Linked DNA regions of Homo sapiens: all the other regions are linked to region 1. The links are contacts of gene promoters, found by promoter capture Hi-C in blood cells and fetal thymus (Javierre and others, 2016). All regions are on one chromosome and are shown on one strand. Each heading gives the region's core, a stretch centred on a gene start or on the middle of the fragment in contact. The rest is flanking DNA. Distances are from core to core; before and after follow the strand shown.

Region 1 (2,700 bases), core at 9-2,508:
AGCTGAGGGACTATTTGGGGATGGGGGTGGAGGGATGGAGAGTTTAGTTGGTAGTGCGAAGTTTCCAAGAAGATAGGTAGGAAAGTGAGTACCAGTAAAGGGCTTATTAAAATACCAAAGAGCCCAGCACTTTGGGAGGCTGAGGCGGGCAGATCATGAGGTCAAGAGATCAAGACCATCCTGGCCAACATGGTGAAACCCAGTCTCTACTAAAAATGCAAAAATTAGCTGGGCATGGTGGCGCACACCTGTAGTCCTAGCTACTTGGGAGGCTGAGGCAGGAGAATTGCTTGAACCCGGGAGGCAGAGGTTGCAGTGAGCCGAAATCCTGCCATTGCACTCCAGACTGGTGACACAGTGAAACTCCATCACAAAAAAAAAAAAAAAAAAAAAAAAGGTCACAGAGGGACTCTGTATTGTAACAGGAGGGAAGAAAGAAAACGGCAGGGTGCAGACTTGAGTAGATTTCTGTTTGGTAGAGGTGAGATGAAGGGATTGGCTTCTATTTTCTCTGTAATGAAAGAGGAGGGATTAACTACTTTTCTAGGTGTTAATAAGGGTGCCTTGTAAACGAATTGTTTTATATGTGAATGGATGCCTTAGCTTTCTAACTTTCACAGGTAAGTAAATATATATCCATGTTCATAGCGGTGGGAACAGAAACAATAGGTGTTTAAAAATACTAGATTGAGGCCGGGCGCGGTGGCTCACGCCTGTAATCCCAGCACTTTGGGAGGCCGAGGTGGGCGGATCACGAGGTCAGGAGATCGAGACCATCCTGGCTAACCCGGTGAAACCCCGTCTCTACGAAAAATATAAAAATTAGCCGGGCATGGTGGCAGGCACCTGTAGTCCCAGCTACTCGAGAGGCTGAGACAGGAGGATGGCGTGAACCCAGGAGGCGGAGCTTGCAGTGAGCCGAGATCGCGCCACTGCACTCCAGCCTAGGCAACAGCGAGACTCCGTCTCAAAAAAGAAAAATACTAGATTGATTTTGATTCTAATAGTGATGATAATTAATCTGATGATATTCTGATGGCAAGGAAAAGTATAAGCTCCAATCAGGCCCCTGTCGTAAGCCGCCTGACAAGTGAGAGAAATGAGGTTCACAGTTGGCTGGTCACAGCACAGGGAAAGGAAATCCACCCCCACGCTCCTTCTGGTCCAGGACCCTAAGGGTTAAGATCAACGAGAGTGGGCCATCACTGTTTCCTAGAACGGCCCCAGCAAAGCCGCCGGGGGAGATGAGGGTAACTTCCTGTTTCTGCCTTCCGGGTTTGAGAGTTTAGGACCCTGGGTTGGTGGGGTCAGAGGGAGAGGGGGTACCTTCCTCCCGGACCGCTGGGGGTGCAGGGCGCCTTGGGTGTAGCACCCAGAACAGTGAGTTCCTTCTTGGGGGGAAGGGAGCCGAGGGTTGCGGGCTAGAGGAGTGGAAACAGCCCCGTCCAGGCTGCAGTGGACGTCCGGGAGAGAGTTCCCGCTGCTGCCAGGGGCGAAGGCCCAGCATCTCCCGCCGACGGGCCACCGTCATCCTTGTCCGCGGGGTCCCTTACGGGATCTTGTCGGCCGGAGACCGTCTGGTATCCTGGAACTTCACCCCCCAGCGTCTCCAACTTGTACCAGCCAGCGGTTCTTAAAACTAGGCTTCAGGCAGTGCATTTTCTTTGAAGGCTTTCTGATCAAAGCACGGCCCCACTCTGATCACATTGTTGCTCTAGAACAGTGAAAACACTCCTTCCCCGTGGAGAGACATCTTAATGGCAGCCTTGTATGGTCTTGCATTTGCCACCATTTTGCTGAGCCACTGTTCCGGGGGCTCCTTTGCTGCCAAATTTAATAGTATTTTAGTAGGGAAAATGGGGGAGATGGTAATGTGTTGCCCAGACTCTTGCTGCTTTTGTAAATACTTTGATAACAATATGTAACTTAGGACAGCAAAATATATAACTCCATTCGAACAACTCCACCCCCTTCCTTTTTTTGCATTCAGGTGTATGGTTTTTTCTCCCCCCCAACTCAAACACTGGGGATATTAGTAATGTAGACTAGTTTCACGTTTCTCTAGAACAAATCCCCACTTGCTGAGTGTGCTTAGGGAATGTCGACTCACTTTGTTAACAAGGTTTAGGAATGTAGACCTCTGTTTTAAAATGCCAGTATTCTAAATATTCTAAAATAAAGGGACTCTGAGGATTCTTTGCAGTTTGGGATTATGCCCAGCTCTGCTTCCTGTTCTAGTTTACGATAATAGATCAGAGGGTGAAAAAGGTCAGCATCCAAACAGACTTGGAGCTCAGTCCTGCTCTACCACTTTCTAGGTGACCTTAGGAAAGTTTCTTAATACCTTTCAAACTCATCCTATAAAATGCTGGTAGTTGTTCATACACTTCAGAGGGCTACTGTAAGAATTAAATGACAAATGTGTGCAAATTATTTCATTCACTACCTGGCACATAATAGGCAGTAATGGTGAAGATACAATATAAGTACATATACTATTTTTTGTTTTTAAAATGTGTGCATTTGTATATCCTTTTACGTCCTTATTTTTCTCCCAAATAATGATACTCTTTATATTCTGAAATGGATGCCAAAAGTCCATATGTCACTGCCTTCCTGTGATAGATCACATTTTCTTCTTTTTCTTTTTCTTTTTTCTTTTTTTTTGTTGAGACAGAGTCTTGCTCTGTCACCCAGGCT
Region 2 (2,702 bases), core at 189-2,688, 210 kb before region 1:
GACAAATGAAAGCCCCCTTTTGTTTCTCTGCAGCTACCAGCAGAAGGGCTAGTGCTGCTCTCTCTTCTTTCTGACTCCAACCTCGACTGTTCTTTTGCCCTGGGTTACCTTGACCTTGGCATTTCCATGGAGAAGTTGACTGCTTGCCTGGACACAGTCTGCTCTCTCTTGCCCTGTGTTTTCAGAACAGGCCACTCACTCTGCACAATTAGAGAACGTGCACCTGAGAAGCCTCGCAAGCTGTGACTCTTGGGGAGAGAGCAAAGAGGAGGATGCTGGGAAGGTGGGTTCTGTGGTCTCACACTGATGGAAAAAAAAAAAAAAAGCAGACAAGGCCGGGCGCGGTGGCTGACGCATGTAATTCCAGCACTTTGGGAGGCCGAGGTGGGCGGATCACGAGGTCAGGAGATAGAGACCATCCTGGCTAACACGGTGAAACTCCATCTGTACTAAAAATACAAAAAATTAGCCGGGCATCATGGCGGGTGCCTGTAGTCTCAGCTACTGGGGAGGCTGAGGCAAGAGAATGGTGTGAACCCGGGAGGCGGAGCTTGCAGTGAACCGAGATCACACCACTGCACTCCAGCCTGGGTGAAAGAGCGAGACTCCATCCCAAAAAAATAAAAAATAAAAATAAAGAGACAAATGGTTTTCTTTCCTGCTATTATTTTGAAAGTCTTGCAGCAGTTCCAAGGAGCCAGGGAAGCTTTGGGATACCGTCCTGCTGGGTCCCTGGAAGGGTTTTCTTCATTGATAGCCTAGTCCTCACCACAGGAGGCACCAGGGTACATGTGTCTTCACACTTCCCTGTTTCTGTTGCTTAACTTGTCCCCATTCCCCACTCCGCAATTAGGATACCTGTGAGAGCTGCCATTGATTGAGTACTTAGTATTTCCCATATATGATCTTATTCCTTCTTTATAACACTTATGCAGTAAGTATTCTTATCCTCATTAAATAAATGTGGAAATTGTGTCTCAGTGAGGTTAGGTAAGTGGCCCTAGTCCACATAGGGATCTGTATGTAGTGAAACTGGGATTCAAATACAGAGTTGTTTGACTCCAAAGTCCATATTCATAAACAGTACAGGGTGTAGCTATTAGGATTTCTCTAAGAGTGTATCCTAGGATCCCCACAGGAGACAGATGGCCCATTCTAAAGGCATTATTGTGGGGAGTTTAATAAGGGATCAGTTCAAATGTGTGGGAGATTTTCAGGTAAACTGAGGAAGGCTGGCGAAACCCTGGGGGCTAGCAACAGCAGGGAGCTGCTTCCACCCTTAGGTCTGAAGACATCAGGGTAAGCAGCGCTTTCCTGAACTGGAGAGAAGGAGCCACCTGACAAGAATTGTGCCCTTGGCAGAGGACTCCAGACAATGGCCATTCTCTCCCCGGGTGTTAACATAGAGCTTGGCACTTTGTGGGCCTTCAGAATGATGAGTTAAATTTGCTGAGTGCTAGTATCACACAAGGGTAGTTTGTTCAAGTGTTGTTTATCGTGCCAAGTTAATAGGTTTGCATTCCATGCTTCCTGCTTTTGTAAATTTTTAAAGCATGCAAGCCAGATCTAATAGTTCTAATTACTTAAAGGCCTCAGTTCTTTTTAGAATTCTATGGAGCCTCTATCTCTGAGTTTCCATACTCCTTGTTTACTTATTAATGTCAGATTTTGGACTACCTTCATACTTGCTATGTACTTTGATTCTTCCCCAACAAAACTAGAAACATCAGGGAATAGATTGTACACAAAGTGATATGATAGTTGGAGTATCAGAGGAGGTGTCAGAATACTCTTCCACTGACTACTGTTTGGCAAGTGGCCAAACCTCTTTGAACCTCAGTTTTCTCATCTGCAAAATAGGGATAACAAGTAAGAACATGCGTGTGAAGGTTCTGAAGCTAATACACGCAAAAGTGTTCATGACTTTAACAGTGGAGCAAGATAGTGGATTTTAGTGACTCTCAGACAATTCTTCCATTGAGATTTTTAGAGCTATCACAGTAAAAGGCTACAAAGAAAGTCAGAGGGCTTTGGGGGTAGAACATCAGAGAGCAAGTGTAGATTGCAATCGTCTCCTAGTGAATATCTTAATCCTGAGTATTTGGGGGTTATAAATAGATTAATCTAAAGTGAAACAAATGAAAAGTATTAATGCAAAAAGTTGGCGTAAAAAGCTTCAAAAATAGAAACTAGGCTGGAAGTTTGGAAGTAAAATTCCATCATGTTCTAGAACAAGGCGGGAAAACTTTTTCTACAAAGGGCCAGATAGTGAATATTTTAGGCTTTATGAACTGGTCTCTGCCCCGTCTTACACAAAAGTAGCCATACACAAACCATAAATGGATAGATGTAGCTGGGTGCCAATGAAGCTTAATTGCAAAAGTTGGTGGCAGTCTAGATTTTGTCTGTCAACATAATTTATCAACTCCTCTTTTAAATGAGCTCAGCTTTTCTATGCCAATACAAGCTAGAGAAATTGCCCACTGTCTCCTTTATTGTTATGTTAGATGATAAGAGAGAGGATTGATATTTACTGAGCACTTGACATCAGTCACTATACGAAGCATGTGACACAGATAATCTCATTTAATCCCATGAAGGCAGTGCTATTACCTGTATCTCCATTATACATTTTTAGTGATTGAGCCGGGATCCAAATATGGTCCTGTCTTACTCTAAAGCTCAAACTCAGTCCACTTCAC
Region 3 (2,716 bases), core at 42-2,541, 230 kb before region 1:
TTAATGAGCTTAGCCTGCAGCAGTTACTGAATGCCCAAGAGAATGGTGGTGTTGGGGGCAGGGGGGCAGGGGGGCAGGGGGATTCTTTTTAACAAGAAACTTTTAGCTTTCCTCTCTAGATTCTCACTAAGGAAGGCTTGGTTTGGGCTAATAGGGGTGAATTTAGGCTTCTGAGCCAGGAGACATTTAGTCAATTGTTTCAAAGCAGTTCTGTCTTGTTTACTTTTAATAATGGGTTTGTTTGCTTTTAATAATAAGAACCAGACCCAGCCCTCCTATTTTCTGAAGGTTGTGAGCAGATGGAGGCTTATGACCTGGAGTTCAGTAGTAATCTTTCCAGCCACAAGTGGCCAGCGGCCACAGGCAACAAGTGAAAACAGGTTGTGTACAGGGAACCATTTCATTTGCAGGGGGTAATGCTATTTACCTGGGATCCTATCCAGCAGCTTCAAAGGTGGTGGCAGCCATTACCCGACTAATGAGCACAACACCCCTGGCTCCCTGTCTTCAAGGCAGGAAGATGCTGTGATGCACATCAGGAGATGGAGGGAAAAGAAATGACTTGCCCACCTGAGTGGCAGGTGAGTCACATTAGCCTCTCTGTGCCTCGCTTTCCTCATTTGTAAAATGAGAGGGTTGGTCCCTTCCACGTGATGTCTTCCATATGAGTCTGGCTGACCTGCAGACCTGATTTTAAGCTCTCTCTGGGTTCTTTGTCTGTTTTAGATATCTAGACATATATGTCTGTCTCTGTGTGTATGTGCATGTTTATGTGTTGCAGAAACAGTTGGGAAAAGAGATTAAGGAAGGGATGGTGCTGTTGGCTCCAGGCAGTGACTCAAGGAGGCATTCATGGTGAAAGAAGAAAGGCCTTTCTCAGGTGATGCTTCATCTTCCCCCACGTGCTCTGATACCCTGTCCCTGCCTTGATGTGTCTATAAATACAAACAGCAGGAGACCCGCATCAGTAGACAAAGCAGGTGGCTGCAACCTATTCTTCTTCCCAATGGCCACTGGGACAGTTCCTCTCCCCCAGAACTTGTTGTTTATATTTATTTTACACTAAAGCTATTTTAACATAAACCTGTTGAAATAGGAGAGGGCTTCCCATCTCACACCTCCACAGATGTGTATTTTCTAGAACAAATTCAAGACTAATCATAAAATGAAAACAGATTTCCACAAAGTTGTTCTTTATAATGTAAATTTTTTTCTGACAGGCAGCTTAATACTTCAAAGGGCAACCCATTCCTTTATTGATTATAACTAATTGTTTGAGATTTTCTTTAGCATGAGTTGAAATTTTTCTTCCTTTGTCAAAGTGAAGGAAGGGACTTGTATACAAGGAAGGTCCTTGTATAAAGGACCTATCATCAAGGTACCATCTCTCTTTAAACTTTAACTCCCAGAGGAGAAATACCTATAGCCACACAATTCATGTACTTTTTAGTCATTGGATCTCTATGACTATTATCATTATAGAAACTGTTTTAATATAATAATAATTTGAAAACTGGATTTTAAGAATACAAATTTAGAAATAGCAGTTCTCTCTAGAGACTCATTCATGAATATGGAAAGATCTTTTATCAGATAATTCCCCCCAGGGGTCCTTTAAATAGCAATCTCCTTCGTTTTGATTCAATTTGTAGAAATCCCATCTAGATGCATTACTGGACCACACATTGTGTAAAGGAAGGTACATTATGTGTTGGGTAACCATTTGGCTCTCTCTTTCTTCCCAACTTGTGACTAATTGATTTTGCCATTAATTGGGATTTCCCCTGGAGGCCATTTGATCTGTTTGCAGGATGAGCAGGGAGTTAGGGCAGTCCCTCCAGATGGGACGGCTTTCAATAAGCAGACAGTCCAAAGGGGCATCAGAGTGATACAGAAACGATTAATTGAATAACTCACTTGAAAATCATGTGCTGCTTTAAAGACCTAAAAGCTAAGTAAATACCTAAGTAAAGGCCATACTGATCAAGTAAGACTCCTTGTTGCAGCCTGGCTGAGAATAATGCCAGGAAAAAAAAAATTTAAGAGCATCCCATTAATGGATTCTTTAAAATACTGGAAGCATGATTCCAGGCAATAACATACTGTAATCCCCATAATACTCACATTTGCATAACTCTAGATAATTTATGAAGCATTTTCGCAGATACTGTGCAGATCTCACACTGACACGGGGGTGGGTTGGCTGTGAAAGGGCTCAACTGGACTTACATTCCAGGAGCAGAAACAGGCTTGGAGCTGTGGACTTCTCAGAGGCATACAACTAGTAAGTGGCAGAAATATTACCAGAACCCAAAACTTCTAATTCTAAATTTCTTGACAACACACAGCACCATCTCCCCAGTGCATCACAGCTAAAACCACCTTACTGGACTCTGTTTTACCCTGGAGAAGAAATGCATACTGACTGAGGACTCTGCTCCATGCCTGGCAAAATATTTGTATTATTTTTACAAGTATGTTTTAGTTTTATACAGATAAATACAATTTTAAATGGTTAAAGATGGCCTCATATTTAAAAAGCACATTGGGAGCCACTGTGTTAGATTATGCAGTGCAGACATAGAGAACCAAAAGGCTATGTGTGGTGGGAATAGTGAGGCAGAACAAGAACTTTCTAGAAAAGGAAAGAAAGGAGAGAACCTGTGGAGCGGAGCTGGGAACCAGGCTGGAGAGGAGAGGGAATAGCTGTCCAGGA
Region 4 (2,795 bases), core at 109-2,608, 150 kb before region 1:
AGGATTGTATAAATAGACAATCATGTTATCTGCAAATAGAGATGATTTTATTTCTTTCTTTTCAATCTGTATGTCTTGTATTTCTTTTTCTTGCTATATTGCACTGGCTAGAACTTCTACTACCCTGTTGAAGAAGATGTTGAAAGCAGACATCTTTGTCTTATTCCCAATCTCAGTGGGAAGACGTTCAGTTGGCACCATTAAGTATGATGTTAGATGTTTTTTTTTTTTTGTAAATGCTTTTTCACAAATTGAGATATTTTTCGTCTGTTCCTACTTCAGTGAGTTTTTTTGAAAAATAGGGATCATACTTTGCTTTCACAGGATTGCTGTGATGATTCTAGGTGAAACATAAGTAAAAGTTTATGGCTGTTGTGGGCCCTCAAATAAGGTTTAGAAAAACAACCTTTGGACAACATTAAGGCGAGTCATTACAACTTAAAGTGAAACCTTCTGTAGACAAATGATCTCACATCTTCACTTCTAGGTATCTCTTCTGAAGAAACATTGGCTCATGTCCCAGAGATTTATATACAAGGAAGTTTACTGCAACCATGGCTGCAACAGAAAAAGCCATTGTGTACCACAGTGTCTATTTAGCCAATTGTCCATCTTTAGCTATTCTGAATGCCTAAAGATAGACAATTGGCTAAATAGAAATTGTGGTACATCCATACAATGGAATACCATGAAGCCATCGACAAAACATCAAGATTCTATTGACCAACATGGAAAGAGTGCCATGGATGGGCACGGTGGCTCACACCTGTAATCCCAGCACTTTGGGAGGCCAAGATGGTTATATCACCTGAGGTCAGGAGTTTGAGACTAGCCTGGCCAACATGGCGAAACCCTGTCTCTACTAAAAATACAAAAATTAGGTGGGCATGGAGGCAGGCACCTGTAATCCCAGCTACTCAGGAGTCTGAGGCAGGAGAATCGCTTGAATCTGGGAGGTGGAGGTTGCAGTGAGCTGAGATTGTGCCATTGCACTCCAGCCTGGGCAACAAGAGCAAAATCTCAAAAAGAAAAAAAAAAGAGAGAGAAAAAGTGCCAAGACACAAGGTTAGGTGAACAAAGGAAGTCTCAAAACAGAACAATTTGATTTTATATTTATAAATGGCATAATATATAAATATGGCTTATAAATTTATACTTATATCTACATACATATAGTATATAAGTATGTATTTTTAAAACCCAGTCATATATTGTAAACACATTCCTAAGTGCATAGAAAAAGGCCTAGAAGGACTTGACACTCATTTGTTAACATCGGACATCCTTCGGGAAATGAATGGGATTGGGTAGAGTACAAAGGGGTACAAAAGATCACTTTAAAAAACTTTATAAATATATTTGGTCTTTAAAACATTTTTTTACAATGATAATGTTTATATTTACTATCTGTTTACCTAAATAAGACTCAGGTAGTATGGGGCAGGGAGTAGCAATTTCTAGTGGTAAAATTTCAGACAATTGTTTTCCATAGTCACTGGGACCCAGAATTCCTGAGCTCTCTTTGTTCTATTGCTGGCTGCAATATTAGTTGTATGATTTTGGACAAGTCACTTTCTCTCTCTGGGCCTCAGATTCCTCTTGTAATGAGGAGATTAAACTAGAGTACCCATGGATAAGCATTTTTATTATTCACATTTAAGCATCTGACCTCTCTTTGCAAATAGGTTTTTGTATGTGGAACCTTTATGTATACAACAGAAGAAAGCATGTCAACAACCCAACTATTTGTACCCCGGATCCATTTCAGCACTAACGTTTTCTGACTGGAGTTGAAGGCAGTGAACCCAAAGCCACCCGTCAGAACTATACTGCCCCTCAGCTGAGTGAAAAATAACTGGGTGATTTCAAGTGACCCACAGAAGCTCAGGAGTGACAGTTGCTCTCATAAAATGTGTTCCCTGAGCATTAAGCCCTGGTGTTGGCAGGGTCTGATAGCTCAGGGACTGTTTGAGCTCCAAGGAGATCATTACTGTTTCTAGAGAGTTCTATGAGGACCCTGGGTCTTTGGAAGAACTATCCATTTGTGGTTTTTAGGAGAATCAGGTCCTAGATCACTGAAGCCACAGCCCATGGCCCAGAGCTGTAGCTTTACTGCTTTGGGGCTGCAGCAGGGAGGCGAGGCCACCTGGGGAAGCTGAGGGCAAGAGTAGAGGTCAAGTGCAACACACAGCATGCTGTGAAATATGAGAAAGGCTCATAGTGTCTTTTCTTTGAAATGAAAAGCGCCATCTCGAGTTCTGTGGAATTGGGTCCAGCCTTCCTTGGCTATAACAGGCATGATAAGGATCATTTTGCCTCCTTTAGGAGCAGGGCTAGATGTCCTACAATTCTCTGCATTAGTTGAGCCCATGGACAGTAACAGCCATAGTCTGAGATATAAAAAAAAAAACAGCACATCGCCCAGAAAAAAGCCTGGGCCCTGTGCTTTTGGGATTCTATTCGCACGTGTTTCGGACTGGCAAGACTCAAACCCAGAAAGAGGGACTCCCTGAGAGGGGAAAGGCGGACGTGCAGGGCCACTCTGGCCTAAGTCTTCTCTGTGGATCGAAGCAGAAGGTAGGAAGCCGGTGTTTTATACCTCCCTGCCTTTCCCTGCCCATTTGTGGGATGGAGAGCTGGGGGCCTGGGTGAATGACCTGTTGTAGTTCAGGTCCACACTCCTACCAAGGCACACCAGCATGGAGGGCGGGAGACCTGGGCTCAAGCCCCAGTTGGGCCACTTTCTCATCGAGGCTAGTCACATGCCTTTGCAGGTTCTCAGTTTCATTGTTTTT

Evidence for each region. Contacts are between HindIII fragments. The CHiCAGO score rates a contact against its expected background, and 5 or more counts as called.
Region 2: a fragment that was not itself captured here is called in contact with the fragment with the promoter of ZNF572 in region 1 in 1 of 17 cell types (M1 macrophages); the score reaches 5.0 in M1 macrophages.
Region 3: a contact is called between a fragment that was not itself captured here and the fragment with the promoter of ZNF572 in region 1, in 7 of 17 cell types (M1 macrophages, total B cells, megakaryocytes and 4 more). The highest score is 10.5, in M1 macrophages.
Region 4: a fragment that was not itself captured here is called in contact with the fragment with the promoter of ZNF572 in region 1 in 2 of 17 cell types (M1 macrophages and erythroblasts); the score reaches 5.7 in M1 macrophages.

Annotation. Positions count from the first base shown.
Region 1 is chr8:124,972,037-124,974,736 of GRCh38, forward strand. ZNF572 (zinc finger protein 572) reads left to right here and starts at 1,259. Exons shown (of 3, transcript NM_152412.3): 1 at 1,259-1,380. RefSeq lists an enhancer at 1,202-1,361. The HindIII fragment of the contact is 4,233 bases long and covers 1-2,700 here.
Region 2 is chr8:124,766,603-124,769,304 of GRCh38, forward strand. No RefSeq gene overlaps it. Among named protein-coding and RNA genes, the nearest start is that of MTSS1, 39 kb to the left of the region's middle. The HindIII fragment of the contact is 1,468 bases long and covers 705-2,172 here.
Region 3 is chr8:124,739,026-124,741,741 of GRCh38, forward strand. All of the region lies in intron 2 of LOC105375741 (a long non-coding RNA gene), which reads left to right. Among named protein-coding and RNA genes, the nearest start is that of MTSS1, 12 kb to the left of the region's middle. The HindIII fragment of the contact is 3,547 bases long and covers 1-2,716 here.
Region 4 is chr8:124,821,394-124,824,188 of GRCh38, forward strand. It overlaps MIR4662B (microRNA 4662b), which reads right to left and starts at 665; the gene lies at 585-665. MIR4662A (microRNA 4662a) reads left to right here and starts at 592; the gene lies at 592-658. The HindIII fragment of the contact is 3,492 bases long and covers 1-2,795 here.